Linked DNA regions of Homo sapiens: region 2 is linked to region 1. Evidence: promoter capture Hi-C in 16 types of primary human blood cells and fetal thymus (Javierre and others, 2016). All regions are on one chromosome and are shown on one strand. Each heading gives the region's core, a stretch centred on a gene start or on the middle of the fragment in contact. The rest is flanking DNA. Distances are from core to core; before and after follow the strand shown. Region 1 holds the start of XPO7 (exportin 7). Region 2 has its middle 99 kb from the start of SNORD3F.

Evidence for each region. Contacts are between HindIII fragments. The CHiCAGO score rates a contact against its expected background, and 5 or more counts as called.
Region 2: a contact is called between a fragment that was not itself captured here and the fragment with the promoter of XPO7 in region 1, in 1 of 17 cell types (naive CD4 T cells). The highest score is 5.1, in naive CD4 T cells.

Annotation. Positions count from the first base shown.
Region 1 is chr8:21,917,787-21,922,618 of GRCh38, forward strand. XPO7 (exportin 7) reads left to right here and starts at 1,876. Exons shown (of 28, transcript NM_015024.5): 1 at 1,876-2,002. The coding sequence starts at 1,985. RefSeq lists a silencer at 1,793-2,232. The HindIII fragment of the contact is 3,017 bases long and covers 1,677-4,693 here.
Region 2 is chr8:20,513,967-20,518,798 of GRCh38, forward strand. No RefSeq gene overlaps it. Among named protein-coding and RNA genes, the nearest start is that of SNORD3F, 99 kb to the right of the region's middle. The HindIII fragment of the contact is 655 bases long and covers 2,294-2,948 here.

The DNA of each region.
Region 1 (4,832 bases), core at 626-3,125:
AATAATGTTCTGCAGCGTCCAGCTATATGGAAAATGGGTTATCAAGGGGCAAGACAGGAAGCAGGGAAACTAATTAGGAATCTATTACCAGAGCACAGGAGAAAGGTAATGGTGGCTTGGACCAAGGTGTTAACAGTGGAGATGGATGGAGAAGTGGTCATATTGGGTATATATTAGATATAGATTGAACAGGACTTGCAGGTGACTTGCATGTTGGGGACTGATAAGACTTGAAGAACCAACTCCTGAGTGTTTATTAGGAGCAACTGGATGAATGGTGGTACCATTTACTGAGGAAGGGAAGACACAGGGAGAAACACGGGGAGGTTGGGGTGCGGGGGTGGGGGAAGGGAGGGTGGACAGAAATTTGGGCCTGGCCCACTGTGAAACTGTTACCTCTATTCAGTCCAGTAGGGAATCCAAAGAATTTCCATTGCAATTGTGACTCTGAGAATATTTCATTGCCCGATGCCAGGTTCAGAAAGCCACTGACCCCATCACCCCGCCTCTTTATACGCTCGGAGCTAATGATTGGACGCTGGGAGGTTTTGGGGAAAAACAAAAACCCAACATCTGAAAAGGTCTATGCTCGCTAGAAGTTAACAGTCAAAAGCTCTGCCACTTAAATCTTCTGCCTCTTAAATCTTCTCTGAGTCAGCCTAATTGGCAGAGCCTAATTTGCATACAGAACCCTAGCTGCAAGGAAGTTTGGGTAATGTAGTTTCCAGGTGCCCTACCTCTGCAAACCAGGAAGACCTACTAGGAGGACGGAAGTCGAAATGAATGCTGAGCACCGGTCCACTACATCCACCAAGGGTGTGTAATTCACTACCACCATCATTTGCATATGATGGTAGTCCCCTGTAAATACAAACTTCAAACAATCAGTGCTCTCAGAATCCAGCTATGATCTAACCTGGGGGCCTTAAAAGGAAGCCACAGTGGAATCCAATGGAAAACAGGAACCGGCATTATCTAACAGATAATTCCTAGTGAGGAAGACTGGAATTGGCCTCAGCATGCAGGGGCTGACCTTATCTGACCCAGAGAGATGGCTTTCCCACTCATACCTCCACAAGACCGAGCCTAGGGGTCCTAACCACCAGCCCCGCTGCCTCTTCCAGCATCTGACCCTCTCGGGAGGCAGTCTAGAGTATTGGCAACGAGGACAATGTCTTTGGGAAGCCAGAACTGTGCCTTCGTATGTTTTGATCATCACCACCATTCGGTGGTTATTTCCATGAATGTTTATCAAGGACGAAAGGACAGAAATGAAAAACACGAGATCAACCACTGGGGTTGCTGGTGAAATCCAGACCAGAGAGCGATGGCCCTGGTCCAGAAAGCTAGACAGACACAAGCACAGAATCGGCCCCCGTTGAGTAGAGGGCATTGGAAAGTAAGGAATCTCGCAGGCAGCCTAGGTGGGGTGTGGGGGGTCCCCGTAGCTGCAGGGTGGGGTGGGGGTGGGGGTGGGAGACGTCCAGGGGCGAGTCAAGGGGGAAGACGGTTGGGAAGAGAGGAAGCCACTGGGTGCAGGGGTCCCGGGGCGGCGACAGACCTCGGCCCCCATCCAGGAGCCCTCACCACGCAAACGAGCAGAAGGCAGCGCCAACTCCCACTCCAGCGCCCGCCTGCCGGAGCGAGCGCGGCCCCTTTAAAAACCATGTAAACAAAGCTTTGTTCCCCCAGCTGCCCCTCCTTCGCGCTCCCCCGGCCCGCTCCTTCCTCCCACCCGGCGTCTCCGGGCCGCTGACGTTGCCCGCGCCTTTACGCCGTCCCAGCGGTGCTGCGCATTCTCCAACCACGGCCCGGGCCGCCGGGGCCTGCGCAGCTGAGCGGCGCTACGCCACGAGCGCAGCGCGACGAGTCCCCAGCGCGCAGGCGCAGCGGCGACGGCGTCGGCGGCGGCGGCGGCAGCGGCTCCGGCCGAGGTGCGCGCTGGGGGGGAGGGGGGGCCGGAGAGGAGCATGAATGGAGCAAAATGGCGGATCATGTGCAGGTGAGAGGAGCCGCGGGGGGGAGGGGGCGACCACGAAGAGCGGCGAGTGGAGTCGGGGGTGCACACGGCCCACAGGGCGCCAGCCGGCTCGGGACTCGGCAGGCCCGCGCCGCCGCCACTCGGGGCTCTGGAGCCGCCGCCCGTCCCGGAGCCCCGGGGCCTTTCCCGCCTCCCGGGCCGGGGGCCTTCTCCGTCCCCTCCCACCCGGTCCCACACCTCGCGCGCGGGGCTGCAGGGACAGGAACGGGCATCCCGGCGCGCGCAGCCCACAACGTTCGTCAGTCACTGTCTTCGTCCCCGGGGGAGGCCTCCGTCAAGTCCTCGGGCCCCCCCGCCCGCCCCCCGGTGAAGCGAGGGGGACCCCCTTGCTGACTTTACTGAGGGGGACGCCCCCATGACGCCCGCCATCCCTCAGCAGATAACAAAAAGGAAACCTCGCGCTGATAAACCTCGCTCTCCGGAGTCTTTCCCGCCGCCTTCCTCTCACGCCCCGGAATACGAGAGACCCCCCAGCAACCCCGGCCTCCTTCCCCCTCCCACGGATGCGCCCTTCCCTCCGACACTCCAAATCGTACAGCCCGGAGGGCCGAGCTCCCCGGTCTTCCAAAATGGGTGCTCAGGCCTCGGCCCGCCTCCCCTCGCGTCCCCCTAGCCACAGTGAAGGAGTTGAGCGCCCACACCTCCTATGAAACACGGGGTGGAGGGGGGTGTGTCTGAAATGAGAGATGCAGGGTTGGGTGCAGACGTTGCTCGGGAGGGTCTTGATCCGGCTCAAGAGCTGCTCCTAGCGTGCTGTGGGGCCAGGCCACTCTCCTCAAAGACAGGCACAGGCCCTAGAAAGGGACAGCCCATACCAAACCCAGTAGCAGATGGAGGACTGCAGGGTTTAATTTCTTGCAAACTAGATAAAGTTTTTCCTGTCTGTGCCAGAGATCTGATATTTTTATGACAGTTATTGATGCACATCCATTGTGGGGAACCTTCCAATTTTCTAGGTAACCAAGTGCACAGGTTTTGTGTTGTGGCAAGGAAAGATTAGAGGGCAAGAAGTGTCGCCTTTATATTCTGTGGCATCATTCCTCAAGTAAGAAGAATGATCTCATTCTTAATACGTCTACAAGAATCTGGAGTGGTGTGACTTCTGCCCCTTTCTTTGGAGAGAAGGGACTAAATAAAAGACTTAATTTTCAGGCCAGAGATCAGTAAAGTAGATCTTCGGAGTGTGCGGGACAAGTTGTCAGGACAGAATTATAGCAAGAAACGTAATCACAGGTGGAAAACCACGGGATTTGTGTTTCAAAGCCAGTACCTTGGCTTAATTCAGAAGTGACAGTAAAAGTTGATACAAGGAGATGATAATAATGATAATAATAATAGTATAGCACCTTGCGTTTTATAGCAGTCATTTCTAAGAAGCATGAAATATTTTATGTGATTTTTAAAAATTCTTGGATCTTACAAGACTCAGGCAGGAATTACTTCTGTCATTTAAAGGAACAAAAACCAAAGCACAAGAATGATAATGAGATTTGGTTAAGGTAAGTCTAAGTGTCCCAAAGTCTTTGGAGTTTGGGTCCAGTGCGCTTCCTTACTGGGGGTTGGGGGGATGTCTATGAGCATTCTAGAACAGGCTTTGAATAGATAGCCTTTGTGAACCATGCTTCGGAATGCAGAGGGAGTCAGTACTTTTATGAATATACATCGTGCTATTTGCTGTTTCCCGTAAAGAAATATCTCTTAATGTGATCTCCCACATTTTCGAAGCATAAAGGTTGTCATTCCTGTGAAAGTCAGGATGCATCAAAGCAATCTTCACAGCATTTGTCGCTCCAACGAAGGTCTGTCTTATTTTTAGTAAGATGTTGTTCTCCCACTCACCACTCAAAAATCTACGGAAGTAAGAATTTATTAACTTTTCAAAACAAAGGGGAGCATGTTGATCAGTGTTTTATTGGTACCCTTTATTTACTTTTAAGAGCTGCAATCTGTTGGTCTAAATTAGTGCTTAGTGGTCTTCATATCAACGGGGTAAGTTTGTGAGTGAATTTTTTTCCCTTTAGAGAGAATGGGACATACTGCTTTTCTTTGTCAGACCACTAAGTGTTAATAGTATTGGGCACTCACAGATGTTAAGGTGGTACTTTATTGTGGCAGAAAACCTTCTTATGAAAAAGATACACGCTTCCCTAGGTATAATGAGTAAATAAAGGATTCATTAAAGACAGTCTGCAATGCATTGAGGGGAGGGTGGCGGGGATATTTTTCTTATAACACTAATCAAACGTGAAGTTTATAAAGGTGTCTGCTACAGATTCATGACTGATTATTGGAGAGTTGCATTTGTTGAACTAAATAGTCGAGTCATTATGTTATCTAGTGCTTTTCTGAACCACCAGGGTGAGCAGTTTTTTCATAATTGAGGCTGAGTGTCATATGATTCTCGGGTTCTCTCAGGCTGATGTCTTGGATATCTCTCTTCTAAGGATATGTATTTTATGGACGATTTTAAGTGCTATAAAACTTTAGTAATGGGAAAATTATAATATTTGGATTGCCCTTTAGCTCTGTTGATGTTACAGGCAAGTGTCTGTAGAAGTGTGCCCTTAAGCAGCTCCTCGATGTGATGGGTTTCTTACTCTTGGTCTTAGATAACCTTATCTAACTTTCACCCTGAAGGCAGGGTGGTTACAAAGCTTTGCGTGGGAGAAAAAAATCAAACTTACTTATGTGTGTTTAATTATGTTTAGTTGCCCTTCCTTTCATGTTTTTTTTAACATATCTAAAGCTGGTAAGTTATCGCAAAGAGATGAAGACAACGCTCAGTGAACAG
Region 2 (4,832 bases), core at 1,371-3,870, 1.4 Mb before region 1:
CCTAGACACAGTTGTATCTTCCAGTCTTTCGCGTTCATTTCAAGTGAAGGGTGTGTGGGTACAGTGAGTATTATGGGTCTCAGCGCCTCCATAGACATCTGATACTTTGATTTCACTTACATACCTTAGGGCTACTGGAGAAAGCTGATGTTCCTGGAATGTTTCTTATGCCTTACTCATTTATTTGGGCTTCAAAAGATGCTGGTGGTCCTGACTTGGATCCCCCAGAGGCCCTGGTTGGTAGCTTGCAGATGAGGTTCTGCTTTGGAGCTGTGGCAGAGGACAGGAATACTGTGGTTGGCAGGGCATCTAGAATCCAAACATCTATCTGCTATCTTGGTTAACCTGCTGGGGGAAGCTGTCCTTCAAAACGGAGGATTGGGCTGAGGAAATGTAGGCTCATTTCATCTTAAAAAGGCTACTGTCTCCCACTACTCTCGGGCACTTTCAGCAGTTTGGCCACATGTTCGGTAATGTGTCTCCTAAAATCTCAGAGATGGTCCATCCTCTAACTGCCCCTTGTCTCCTGTGTCCTCCCCACAGGAACCATGTTAAGAGTACTCCCGGCAGGGTGCGGTAATCCAGGCAATACAGCCTCATGCCTCTAATCCCAGCACTTTGGGAGGCTGAGGCGGGAGGATCACATGAGGCCAGGAGATCGAGACCAGCCTGGCCAATACGGTGAAATCCCGTATCTACTAGAAATACAAAAATTAGCCAGGCGTGGTGGTACGCATTTGTAATCCCAGTTACTTGGGAGGCTGAGGCACCAGAATCGTTTGAATCCAGGAGGCGGAGGTGCCAGTTAGCTGAGATCGCACGAGTACACTCCAGCCTGGGTGACAGAATGAGATGCTGTCACAAAAGAATAAAATAAAATAAAAGAACACCCCTGTGTTGCTGTGGTTTTCTCTTCACTGCTACACAAACTGTGTGGAGGTGGGTGAGCTTCTTGTTCTCTAGGGGTCTTGGTTTTTCTCATGACTGTGAGAACAGGGCTAGAGAGAATCTCTAGTTTTCTTGTAGGAAAAGTTATGGCCTGTCATGCTTCCTAGACCGAAGTAGACAGCTGGGATTGGACTCTAGCAGAGTTGGCATAAGGATTTTTAGACCATGTTTTCTCTTGCAGTCATTGGACCCAGGTTTTCAGGGATTGAAGTTAACTCCTGACTCAGGCCCTCAAGATAAAAGCAGGTGAATCTGAAATGGGACAACAAAGAAAAAGAGTGAAGGGTCCCTAAAATATGTCAAATATCAAGGGTCTGCCCCTGTGCTAGGCATTGTCACCAATATTGCCTCATTTGGTAGCACACAGTGCTTAGGAGCAAAAGCTCTGTGTTCTGATTGCCTGGGTTCAAATCCTGCCTGTAATACTAAGTATCCATATGGTTTTGGGAAAATTATGTGAGAATTTCATACCTCAGTCTCCCGATCGATCTGTAAAATGGGGTAAGAACACCCCGCCACGGAGTTATTGTCAGAAATTAAATATGTACATGCAAAAAACACAGAAAAGAAATGAACATGTAACAAGTGCTAAATACATGTTAGCTATTATTACTACTATTCAGTCTTAATCACACACACACCTTTTTACGAATATGGAAACAGGTTCAGAGAGGTCACGTAGCCTACCTGACTCACCTAGCCAGTTAGTGACAGAGTTGAGTTTCAAACCCAAGTTTATCTGGCATCAAGCTCATATTGATTTTCTTCCCGCTATACCTTTAGAGTCGATGAGATTCTGGAAGAATTATTTTCCTATTCCGTTTTGACTTTCATAGCATCACCATGAAAACATATTAGAGAAATCTGGGACTCACGGTTCATTCCCCAGACATAGACTCTCATTCAGGAAGGGGGCTGTCATGCTGAAATTTCAATGCCTCCAATGCGGAATTAGGCTGAGCCCCGACAGAAGTCCCAGCTGGGCAGAAACTGAGCCACTCACTTCAATCGGCCCTTTCCGCTGCCAGCGTGGGAGAGGAAGAGAGTGTGCTTCTGTTACAGTCAGATGTTCATCATGGAAATAGATAATTTACCTTCCTTGAGGCTTGGTTTCTGCATATAGGAACTAGATCCCGGTCCACTTGCAGGGTTGCGGTCATCGTGGCCTGATAGTTCCCCATTCGAACTTCCTGGCACGTAGTCGGGGAGACCTCAGCCAGTGTTCATTTCCTTTGCACCCCTTTCTGTCTCTTATGCTAGTTGATCTGATAAATTTTCCTAACAATCTGAAACTGTGTATCTACAATCCTCCAATCATTTCTGTGTTTTTACATATAAAAGTAAAAGCTTATTGAGGGTTGTAATTGCTTGGGGATTTCCCTTCTTGCAGTCTCTTTGGGTAACCAAAGCCTCTCTGGCTTCTCGCAATGTTTCTGATGTTAACATTTTAATAACACACTCAGAGTGTTTTTGTTTTATGAATTCTAATATAGATGGGAGTTCTCCCCCAGAGAGGTTTTTAAAGCAGGTGTTTTTAAGTGAATAACTCAATATCTACATGCATATTTCTGTGACTAAAAGCCATTTTTTCTTCCAGACGTCAAATTGCTCTAGTTTTCAGGCAGCTCTGGGGTGGTCACCTGCCTTGTTTAAAGATTCTTTTACCTTTCTCTGAGGAGCTTACTGCACTCTGAAAGCCTTGTAGTGTGTGTGTGTGTGTGTGTGTGTGTGTGTGTGTGTGTGTGTATGTGTGCTGTACAATCAGAAAAGTTTGTCCACAGCTTAAGGTGGACTTCCTCTCCCACATTAAGTGGAAAAAAAAATAGCTGTAACATCTATGAACATATCTCCAAAAAGAAGGCCTGACTAGGTAACAATTCATCTACCTCTTCTGTTGGACTTATTTGCTCCCTTCTTATAGAGAATTGCAGGATCTGCCTGATCCGGAGGAACCTTCTGATCTCATTCCACACACCCTGGACATGAGCTTTTGATCTCAAAGCTTACAGGACAGTGCACAATTGCTGTGCCTAGAGAGTCTACTGCAGAGGGGGAGGAAAGAGCGATGATCACTGGTGTGGAAGTGTGGTCCTAAGAGAGCTTCTGAAACTCTTGTATCTAGGGGACTCTCCTGGGAGAACTTAATAGGGATTTCTCCAAAGTTACGCTCACAAAAGCTTGGGCCATACCACTGCTCCAGCATTCTCAGGGTGTCAGGATACCTACTTATAGATTAGGGAGCTCGAAGTCTTGCGATTAGAAGTCCAAGACACAGAGAGGGGAACAACACATACTGGGGCCTGTCATGGGAGCAGGGGGAGGGAGGGCATAATAATAAATAGCTAATGCATGCGGGGCTTAATACCTAGGTGATGGGTTGATAAGTGCAGCAAACCTCCATGGCACAGGTTTACCTATGTAACAAACCTACATTTCCTGTACATGTATCCTGGAACTTAAAATAAAATAAAGTAAAATAAAAAGTCCAGTTATTGCCTTTTTATAACCAGCATTTCCTAAAGTTATTTCAACAAGGAGCTCGTTTCTTGTTGCACATGTGGTAGCGTGCCGGGGAAAGCTGTTCTGCAGGACATTAGTTGTGAAGTGCTGATAAGGAATAGACAGATCCCCTGAAAGGAGCATGGATACTCGATTTATCCATTTTGGAGCTGAAGGGAGGGGCCCTGCCATCTCTGGTCTTCGAGATCATAGAGCCTGAGAGAATAGAACATCAAGCTGGAAAGGACTCGAGGCTCAGTCAGCTCAACCTTCCCACCTTGACCTTGCTCAGGGAGGGCAAGAAGCTCTGCTCAAGCTCACGGATTAAGCCGTAGCAGCGTGACAGTGACTGGAACCTGGGTATTGCTACCCATGCGCGTGGGGCTGCAAGCTACCACCTTAACCGCAAAGGCCAAGAAACGTGGAGCGGAGAAAAGGAGGGAGATGAAACATGCAGAAGGAAAGATAGGGAAGAGACAAAGGAAGAATTTTGGATGCGGATTCTTAGACTAGATTACCGGGGGTGGCGGAGGGCTGGCAAAGCCTAGAAGTGCACAAAGGATGTTGAACAAGCTTCAGACGAGAGTTAAAAAAAAGTATCAGCGTAGAAGGAATTGTGTCTGCCTAGGAAAAGGGTGTGGCAAGAGGAGGAGCGGCACTTGCGGAGAGCTCGGAACACTCCGCCGAGAATGACTTTTGGAGCCATTTGGCAGAGATTAGGGAAAAGAATAAGTGGACACGCTCCAGTTATGAAGAAAAGACATATGGGGATTTAGATTATGAACAGACGGAAGAGGAAGAATGAGGAATCATTCTTTGGAGATAAAGACTCTCCGGAACAGAAGCGATGCTGAAATGCGTAAGTCGACAGTAATGACGGATCCCTTTCCTTTTATGGCACTTTACAGTTTATAAAGCACTTCCACCTGTGTGGTCTCACATTCTTCTGGCAGCACATCCAGGTTCTTACATAATGACAGCTGGGAGAAGAACTGGTGAGAAAGCTCCCTGTGAAAAGAAGGAGGCAGGATAGGAGGGAGGGAAAGAATGATCACTTGGATTCATCCATTTATGAAAATAAATGGAGGGGCAGTGTGCACAGCACAGCAGTTAGGCGTGAAGAGTCTACAGGCAACTCTCTGGGTTCAAATCCCTGCTCTATCACTTAATAGCCGTGTGACCTTGGGCACATTACTTAACCTCTCTGTACCTTGGTTTCCTTAGGTGCAAAGTGGGGGTAATCACAGTACCAATTTCTAGGGGTTTTATGATGACTTATCTTTCTTCTGCTTATAGGTGTCTGACAGAGCTAGGAAACCACTTGGGGAAAAAGTGGGAACACCCTTATTAGAAAGTAAATTTCTCTATGGTATTATAGATACTAT